2 separate regions of the Homo sapiens genome follow, and region 1 is linked to region 2. Evidence: promoter capture Hi-C in human tissues and cell types (Jung and others, 2019). All regions are on one chromosome and are shown on one strand. The core of a region is centred on a gene start or on the middle of the fragment in contact, and the rest is flanking DNA. Distances in the headings are between cores, read along the strand shown. Region 1 holds the start of IFI30 (IFI30 lysosomal thiol reductase). Region 2 holds the start of INSL3 (insulin like 3).

Region 1 (5,698 bases), core at 24-2,523, 350 kb before region 2:
GTGCATTGGACTTCTTCAGGGGCCCCCGCAGGTATAGATTGCCTGTCTGTGGATTAGGAAGGCGTGGGAGGCAGGTGTAGCCCTGGGCAGTTCCCCACTTCTCTCAACCCCACTTGGTAGTCTTGTAGAAAGGGGGCTGTGATACGCAATTCATCTTGCACGCCTTCCAGAACTTGCCAGGTGGAATCTTGACTTTGAGACTTTTTTTTTTTTTTTTGAGATGGAGTCTCACTGTCGCTAGGCTGGTGTGCTGCGGCACGATCTCGGCTCACTGCAACACCCGACTCCCTGGTTCAAGCAATTGTCCTGCCTCAGCCTCCTGAGTAGCTGGGATTATAGGCACATGCCACCACACCCAGCTAATTTTTGTATTTTTAGTAGAGACAGGGTTTCTCCATGTAGGCCAGAATGGTCTCGAACTCCTGACCTCGTGATCTGCCTGCCTCAGACTTCCAAAGTGTTGGGATTACAGGCATGAGCCACCGCCTCCGGCCTTGGCCCATGCTCATTTCTTGTCACTTCACCTGGAGACCTTGCCTCTGAGCTGAGCAAGGGATCCACGTGAACCCTTTCCAAGTCCGACTGAATAGAGGCGGCACCTAATAGGTGCTGACTTCCGGCTTCAGCTGAGGGGTGGCGGGTGGCCCATGTCGCTGGAGCGGTGAGCAAGTCGCTCAGCCTCTAGGGCATCTGCCTAATAGGTCCCAAAGACACGCGAGCCCTGCCCTGGCTGGAATGAATGCATCAAGGGTAGCAGCAAGAATGCATGCCGGCGGCCCTTGGCCAGCTGCTGAACTTGTGCCCTGGGCCACAAAAGGAGACCCCAGCTCCTGCCCCAAAAGTACACAGTAGGCGCTCATTGAACCCTTGGGCGGGACTAGGCGGGTGGAGGCAGCTGCGCCTCTCAGATGCGGGATGCGAAAGCGAAACGGCACGGAGGGAGTGTGGCCGCAGCGCCGGGAACTGAACAGGGTTTTTCCAGGAACCCGGCAGGGACAGCGTCCCCTCGGGGCCCTGGTCTTCCCCTGTGAAGTCTGGGGAGAAAGAAGGAGCCGCGTGCCCCGACAGGGCGCCTGTTCCCTCCAGCCTGCCCGCCCTGTCGCCGTCCCTACCTTGTAGTTAACTGGTGGCCCATTCCCAAAGAAGTCTAACGCTTGCAGAGGGGACGCCTGCACCGCCGCCGTGGGGACGTCCAGCAGCAGCAGCAGCGGTGGCAGGAACAGCAGAAGTGGCGACAGGGTCATCGCAGCAGGGGCAAAGGTGTGGCGACTGCAGCGGCTGCCTGGGAAATAAGCGCCTTTAACCAGGCGGCGGTCCCGCCCCTAACCCGGGCCCGCCTCCCGATGCCCACGCCCCTCGGGTCCCGGGCCAGCGTCTCTCCCTCCTCCACTCCTTCCTCTGAGTGTCCCACCCCCACCCCTGCCAGGTGCTGGGTCCCCAGTCACGAGGCCATTGGGCCCCTTGGCAATCAGCCCTGCCCAGGCACGTGAGCCCTGGCGCAAGACTACCTTTAGGGGAGGTGAGGTGGGGCCTTTGAGACAGACACAGGCTGAGAGGAATGGTGGTGTCTCCACGCACCCCTAGACCTTCTAGGGGCGGCTAGGGGACTTGAGGCCCGAGACCCACTCTCAGAGTGGGCCTGTGACCTAACAGGGGTGACGTCGGATGGAGGCTGGGGATGGGATGGAGGCCGGGGTTTTGGGGGAGTAACTGAAATATTCAGGCCCCCGAGAGTGGGCAAGGCCTGTGTGGCCAGGTCTCCTCCCTCCAGTCTCGCCCGTGACCTCCCTCACACCCAACCCCCACATCCTGCCCCTCAACCCTTCCCCCCTCAAACTCCTGACCCCGACGCTCCAGACCCCTCACCGTGGTCCCGTGGGACTGACTCAGGCTTGACCACAGCCACGCCGGAAAGCAGAAGCTGGCGCAGGGAGTGGCGTGTCATTTCTCTAGGGTACCCACCCAGCCCCACTTCTGGCTTGGGGTGAAGAGAACTGGCCTTCCTTCTTTTCATCGTTCAAGGCTTGTGGGGGGTGGGGGGCAACCTGGCCTTCAAGGGACGCCCATGGGGGAGAGAGGCAGCCTGTGCTGTCTGGGATAGGGGTGGGGTGGCTTGGAGTCCACCTGGCTTTGGATTTGAGTGACAGAGCCTCAGCTTTCCCTTCTGTGTAATGGGGAGAAGGATAAGGTTTGGGGAACAAGAGTCACCATGGAGGGCTCAGAGGCAGGTGGGGGAGAGTTGTCCCAGGCTGGGGCTTCTGGATGGCATGGTCAGGCCTTGGTGCCTACACAGGACAGTGGCCCCAACAGTGAAGGCAGAGAGAATAGCCTGGAAAAAAGGCCCAGATGGAGGCTGGAGTGTTGGGGGAATAACTGAGACATTCCAACCCTGCCAGGCCTTACATTCAGGGCAAGACACATCGGATCCTAGGGAAGAAAATGTCCCACACCCAGCTGGAAGATATACCTGAGTCCCCAGCTGTGCCCCCCTCTAGTTGTGGGGAAGACCCTGGCCACACACACAGTAGCTGGTTTGGGAGCCGGAGCTTCTCTGAAGTCCCAGTGGCTGGATGGTCCCCGAGCCCATCCCTCAGACGACCAAACCGTTGGCAAAGGCTCCCCAAGACTCACCACCCCAACTTTGGTGCTTACCCTATGCCGGGTGGGATTGAAGAAATAACCATAAATATAATTGCTACAATTTTTCCAGTAGTTACCAGGCACCAGCCCTATTGGAAGAAATCATAAATGTAACCCTACAATGTATTGCTCTCTGGCTTGGTGCCAGGCATAGAGTGGGCCTACAACCCATTTTATCATTGAACCCTCAGAAGCATCCAGTTGGGGCTGGGGGTAGGTGCTACTGACTCCAGCTGGTAACAAATAAATGGCTGATCAGAGAGGGAAGGCTATTTTGCCAAGGACACACAGCCAGTGGTTGAGTGTTTTTAGAGACCACACGGGATATTCTCTTCCACCCCCAGCTCAGCATAGCTGGGATCATAAAGATGGCAACCTTTCTCCTGTGAGCACCTATGCAGTGAGAGGCACAATCTGGGCTGGAGTTATTTATGGGTTATCTCCAGACAGGACACATGGCAGGGACAGTGCCTGGCAAGGCTAGGGGGCTCTGAGGCTAAGGGAGGCAGGTCCTGTCCCAAGGTCCCAGCAGTAGACTGGGTCAGAGTGGAGGTTTCTTTCTGCACTTGCCCCAGGTTCAGCCTTGTTGGGCCTTGAGAGGTGGCTGTACAAAACAGACAAGGACAGTGAGGCCCCAGGGTTGGGGAGGGCTGAAGGGACAATGACGTCGCAGTGGGGGTGTGGATTCTGGGTGTGATGGGGAGGGTGGTAAACAGGAGTCCAAGTCAAAGACGCCATGAGGCCACGCGTGGTGGCTTACGCGACTCAGGGAGGCTGAGGTGGGAGGATCACTAGAGGCCAGGAGTTTGAGACCCACCTGGAAAAGGGCAAGACCCTTTTTTTTTTTTTTTTTCTTGAGACAGAGTCTCACTCTGTCACCCAGGCTGGAGAACAGTGGCACGATCTTGGCTTGGTGCAGCGTTGACCTCCCAGGTTCATCTGATCTTCCTATCTCAGCCTCCCAAGTAGCTGGGATTACAGGCATGCGCCACCATGTCTGGCTAATTTTTTTTTGTATTTTTAGTGGAGACCAGGTTTTACCATGTTGGCCAGGCTGGTCTCAAACTCCTGACCTCAAGTGATCTGCCTGCCTTGGCTTCCCCAAGTGCTGGAATTACAGGTGTGAGCCACTGCACTCGGCAAGATCTTGTTTCTAAAAAAATTTAAAAATAATTAGCTGGACATGGTGACACACACCCGTAATCCAGTGACTCTAAAGGCTGAGATGAGAGGACTGCTTGAGGCTGGGAACCAGGAGCTTGAGGCTGTGAGCCGCGAGCTGTGTTCGCACAACTGCACTCCAGCCTGGGTGACAGAGTGAGAGACCTTGACTCTTTAAAAAGAAACACAAAAAACCCCACAGGGCTTTTGCTCAGCGTCTCCTGGGACCCGGCGGGCTGTGCATGGGAGTGGGTGAGGAGAGGTCAGAGAAGAGCCTCCAATGCTGGCTGGAGGTGCCGACGACTTGAGAACATCAAAGACACGGGAGACTCCTCCCTGTGGCATGGGAGGGTTTTGACTTTTGACGCCACTTGGCAATGAATGAGGAAGCTGTGGATCAGGGAGGGGATACAACTTTCCCAAGGACACAGCTGATGGTTGCGACAGGATTCAAATTTGGGGGCGGTGGGCGGGGGAAGCAGCTTGGAAGCACTTGAGGGGCTGGATGGGGTCTGGGGTCCCCTGAGCAGTCGGGAGCTCAGGATTCGAATCTCTCTCCTGTATGACCTTGGGCACTGCCTCAACCTCTCCAGGCTTGAGCAGCTAAACTGGGGGAGGGAGGGGTTGTCGGGTCTCAGAGGGGCTTGGAGTTAAACCCACGGGTCCGACCTGCTGTGACCCCCGTAGACACCAGGGTCCCCGACACGCAGAGGTGGTACTGAAGCCCAGTCACTGACAACAGAATCACCCACGACGTTTGATGTTTTATATCATATCAATAACAACGTACCGTACAAAACCTGCCTCCCAGCTCGTGGGGCAGGCAGTGTGGTGGCCAAGGGCAGCGTAGAAAACCAGGGCTCTTGTCCCAAAAGAGGAGAGGAAAGAGGGTTTTGCAGTCAAGGAAAAACAGAATCAAAACCCAACATGATCGAAGAGAAGCCCTGAATCTGCATCAGAGGGAGGGGCCGTGGGCAGTGTCGCAACTTGGCCACTGCGGCGGCACCAGTACGGGGAGCTGTGATTCCTAGGAGGGGTTGGGGCCAGCTCACAAGTTTATTTATTTATTTTTTTGAGACGGAGGAGTCTCCCTCTGTTACCCAGGCTGGAGTGCAGTGGCACGATCTCTGCTCACTGCAACCTCCATCTCCTGGGTTCAAGAGATTCTCACGCCTCAGCCTCCCAAGTAGCTGGGATTACAGGCGGCCGCCACCACGCCCGGCTAATTTTTGTATTTTAGTAGATGCGGGGTTTTGCCATTTTGGCCAGGCTGGCCTCCAACTCCCGACCTCAAAAGATCCGCCCGTCTTGGCCTCCCAAAGTGCTGGGATTACAGGCATGAGCCACCGTGCCTGGCCTGCGAGTTTAATTATTTTTTCGGGGGTGGGTGAACTTCTCGCAGCGGCCCCCTTGTGGGGGTAACCCGGTGGCGGGTTTCACTTCGGGGTTTGGAGGGGAAGTTGGAGTCTGTGGGGCGGGTCCCGCCCGGCCCCGAATGTCACGGCCGAGGTTCTCGGAAGCAGCAGAGTGAAGTTCCTTCCTGCCCTGACCCCAGGTCTATGGCTTAAAAATCAGGGTGCCCAGGCTGGGGCCGCGCAGCCCAGGGGCCCTCTGTAAACATGGCAGGTGCAGCCAGAAGGGGCTTCCGGGACCCCGGGGGACCTGCGGTGGGCAGGGCAGAGGGTCAGGGTGACCAGAGCCATGGAGAGGGCAATGCCCGGAGGACACGTAGATATGGGGTGGGGGAGTTAGGACCCCCAACATGGAGAGAGACAGGGGCCAAGAAAGACAGAGAAAAGGAGACAGAGGGAGATCTGGAGAATGGGGGAGGGAAGGAAAGAGAAAGAGGGTGAGAGAACCCCAAACAAGAGCCAGAGCCGGAGAAATGAGGACCCCT
Region 2 (3,704 bases), core at 1,205-3,704:
CCTAATTTGGTAGAAATAGGGAGGGAGCTGCTCTGGGGTCAAGCAAGACTCGAGTTCCAGCCCAGGTTCTCTCCTGCCTAGGGTCAAGCATCCTTCCCTCTCTCAACCTCAGATTCCCTCCTTGGAAAAACAAAGCTATAAGACCCCCTAGGCATGAAGCGGGGGCCAAGCATCCACTGAACAAATAAATCCTGCTCTATTCTGGGTCCACCAGCCCCTGCTCACCCAGAGGGGACAACCGTGTTGGGGAGACAGAGCTTCGGATGGGACACCCCCAGCCCTGCGTGTCAGGCGCCTTGAGAAGACCTGGGCTCTGCTCAGCCTCCTGTGACCTTGGGCAAGTTTGGGGTCCTTTCTCTGTGCCTCAGTTTTCTTTTTTTCTTTTCTTTTCTTTCTTTTTGTCTGGTGAGGGGACGGAGTCTCTGTCCCCAGGCTGGTGTGCAGCGGCACCATCTCGGCTCACTGCAATCTCCACCTCCTGGGTTCAAGTGATTCTCCTGCCTCAGCCTCCCGAGTAGCTGGGATTATAGGCATGCACCACCACATCTGGCTAATTTTTGTATTTTTAGTAGAGACAGAGTTTCACCATATTGGGCAGGCTGGTCTCGAACTCTTGACCTCAAGTGATCCACCTGCCCCATCTTCCCAAAGTGCTTGCATTACAGGCATGAGCCACTGCACCTGGCCTGTGTGCCTCAGTTTTCTCATTTGTACAGTAATAGAAACAACAAAATTCTGAACATTTCTGGTCTTGGAAGATGCCCGCTGTCTTCCCCCCTGCCCCCCAGAAAAGGCAGGATTATTACTTTTCAGTTGATCTATTTCATCTCTTTAAACTGGTTAAGACAATAGCGAAGACTTGGCCGTGTGTGGTGCCTCACACCTGTAATCCCAGCATTTTGGAAGGCCGAGTAGGGAGAACCACTTGAGTTCTAGATGAGCCTGGGCAACATAGCAAGACCCCTGCCTCTACAATTAAAAAATTAAAAATGGCCGGGCGCGTTGGTGCACGCCTGTAATCCCAGCACTTTGGGAGGCCGAGGCGGGTGGATCACTTGAGGTCAGGAGTTTGAGATCAGCCTGGCCAACATGGTGAAACCCCGTCTCTGCTAAAAAATACAAAAATTAGCCAGGCTTGGTGGTGGGCACCTGTAATCCCAGCTACTCAGGAGGCTGAGGCAGGAGAATCGCTTGAACCCAGGAAGCAAAGGTTGCAGTGAGTCGAGATCGCACCACTGTACTCCAGCCTGGGTGACAGAGTAAGACTCTGTCTAAAAAGATAAAAATAAAAATTAAAAAATTAAAAATTAGCTGGGCATTGTATTGCAGGCCTGTAGTCCCAGCTACTCAGGAGGCAGAGGCTGAAGGATCGCTTGAGCCCAGGGGAATGAGGTTACAGTGAGCTATGATCCTGCCATTACAGGCCAACCCAGAGAGATCCTATGTCAAAAATGAATAAATACCCTGGTGTGGTCGCTCTCGCCTGTGATCCCAGGACTTTGGGAGGCTGAGGCGGGAAGATGACTTGAGTCCAGGAGTTTGAGACCAGCCTGGGCAACATGGCAAAACCCCATCTCTACAAAAAAAATACAAAAAATTAGCCGGGTGTGGTGGCGTGGGCCTGTAGTCCCAGCTACTCAGGAGGCTGAGGTGGGAGAATTGCTTGAGTCAGGGATAGGGAGGTGGCAGTGAGCCCATATCGTGCCACTGCACTCCAGCCAGGGTAACAGAGCAAGAACTCATCTCAAAAATAAAAAATAAAAATAGGTGGCTGGGCGTGGTGGCTTACACCTGTAATCCCAGCTACTTGGGAGGCTGAGGTGGGAGAATCACTTGAACCCAGGAGGTGGAGGTTGCAGTGAGCCGAGATCGCATCACTGCACTCCAGCCTGGAAGACAGAGCAAGACTTTGTCTCAATAATAATAATAAAAATAATAATAGTCCAGGCACAGCTCATGCCTGTAATCCCAGCATTTTGGGAGGCCGAGGCAGATGGATCGCTTGAGGTCAGGAGTTGGAGACCAGCCTGGCCAACATGGCGAACCCCAGTCTCTACTAAAAATAAAAAATAAAAAAAAAAAAATTAGCCAGGCATAGTGGTGCGCACCTGTAATCCCAGCTACTCAGGAGGCTGAGGCAGGAGAATCGCTTGAACCCGGGTGTCAGAAGTTGCAGTGAGCCGAGATCAAGTCACTGCACTCCAACCTGGGTGACAGAGTGAGACTCCATCTCAAAAAAAAAGAAGAAAAAAATAAAAAAGAAAGACTCGTTGCCCAGTGCTCCCTCTGGGAGAAGTACATCCAAGGCCCTGGCCCTGGGAGAAAGGCTCTGGCACTAACCCCACCCTTGACCTTTTTCCTGGGCGGTCCTGAAGAATGTTCTGTCCCTTCTCCAAGGCCCCCAGCTGGGACGGCCCAGGCGCCTATAAAGGGGGTCCCCGCTTGGCCCCGGCGCCACCCACCACCATGGACCCCCGTCTGCCCGCCTGGGCGCTGGTGCTGCTGGGCCCTGCCCTGGTGTTCGCGTTGGGCCCCGCGCCCACCCCAGAGATGCGTGAGAAGTTGTGCGGCCACCACTTCGTACGCGCGCTAGTGCGCGTGTGCGGGGGCCCCCGCTGGTCCACCGAAGCCAGGAGGCCTGCGACCGGAGGCGACCGTGAGTGGGGACGGGCAGGGACAGCGCTCTGGGAAGCCGAGGTGGGGCAGGTGCACGTAGGCGCAGATGCACACGTGCAGGGAGGTGGGCAGGTTTGCATGCATGTGCCCAGGGCTCACCTGCCGGCTGCGTGCACAGATCGTGGGTCCGCACTGGAGTGTGTGTGAACGCGCGTGTGAAAGTCCCCAGAGCCGTTAGCCAGGCGTGGTGGCTCACGCCTGCAATCCCAGCACTTTGGGAGGCTGAGGCGGGTGGATCCCCAGAGGTCAGGAGTTCGAGACCAGCCTGGCCAAAATGGTGAAACCCCATCTCTACTAAAAATAATTTTTAAAAAAATTAGCCGGGGATAATGATGCACATCTGTAATCCCAGCTACTTGGGAGGCCAAGGCAGGAGAATCGCTTGAACCCGGAAGGCAGAGGTTGCAGTGGGCCGATATCATGCCATTGCACTCCAGCCTGGGCGACAGAGTGAAACTCCGTCTCAAAAAAAAAAAAAAAAGAAAGTCCTCAGAGCATGAGTCCCCCTGAGGGGCCAGAAACAGAGTGAGGCAGGAGAGGTAGGCTCTTGCAAGTACATGGTGAGATCCTGTCTTAAAATTTCAATATTTTGATCTTCATGAATTTTTGCCTTAATTTTGCTTTGTTTGTTTGTTTTTTGAGACAGGGTCTCACTCTGACGCCCAGGCTGGAGTGCAGTGGTGAGATCTCGGCTCACTGCAGGCTCAACCTCCTGGGCTCAAACCATCCTCCTGCCTCAGCCTCTGGAGTGGCTGGGATACAGGTGCTGCCACCACACCCAGCTAATTTTTTTTTCTTTTTCGTAGAGAGGGAGTCTCACTCTGTTTCCCAGGCTGGTCTCAAACTCCTGAGCTCAAGTAATCCTCCCACCTTGACCTTCCAAAGTGTTGGGATTAGCGATGTGAGTCACTGTGTCCAGCTTTAAAAGTATTTAAAAGTATTGCTTTTGAAAAGTATTGCTTTTCACAATTATGTTACTTTATTTTATTATTTTATTTTTATTTATTTATTTTGAGACATAGCCTCGC

The links. Contacts are between HindIII fragments. The study calls those that stand out against the background at their distance.
Region 1: a contact is called between the fragment with the promoter of IFI30 here and the fragment with the promoter of INSL3 in region 2, in 1 of the 25 tissues and cell types used here (stomach).

What each region holds. Positions count from the first base shown.
Region 1 is chr19:18,169,388-18,175,085 of GRCh38, reverse strand. It overlaps IFI30 (IFI30 lysosomal thiol reductase), which reads right to left and starts at 1,273. Exons shown (of 7, transcript NM_006332.5): 1 at 1,113-1,273; 2 at 1-46. The coding sequence starts at 1,244. It overlaps PIK3R2 (phosphoinositide-3-kinase regulatory subunit 2), which reads right to left. Exons shown (of 16, transcript NM_005027.4): 16 at 4,554-5,698. RefSeq lists enhancers at 46-711, 839-908, 3,956-4,175 and a silencer at 1,219-1,528. The HindIII fragment of the contact is 16,563 bases long and covers 1-5,698 here.
Region 2 is chr19:17,820,269-17,823,972 of GRCh38, reverse strand. INSL3 (insulin like 3) reads left to right here and starts at 2,454. Exons shown (of 2, transcript NM_005543.4): 1 at 2,454-2,656. The coding sequence starts at 2,467. The HindIII fragment of the contact is 21,957 bases long and covers 1-3,704 here.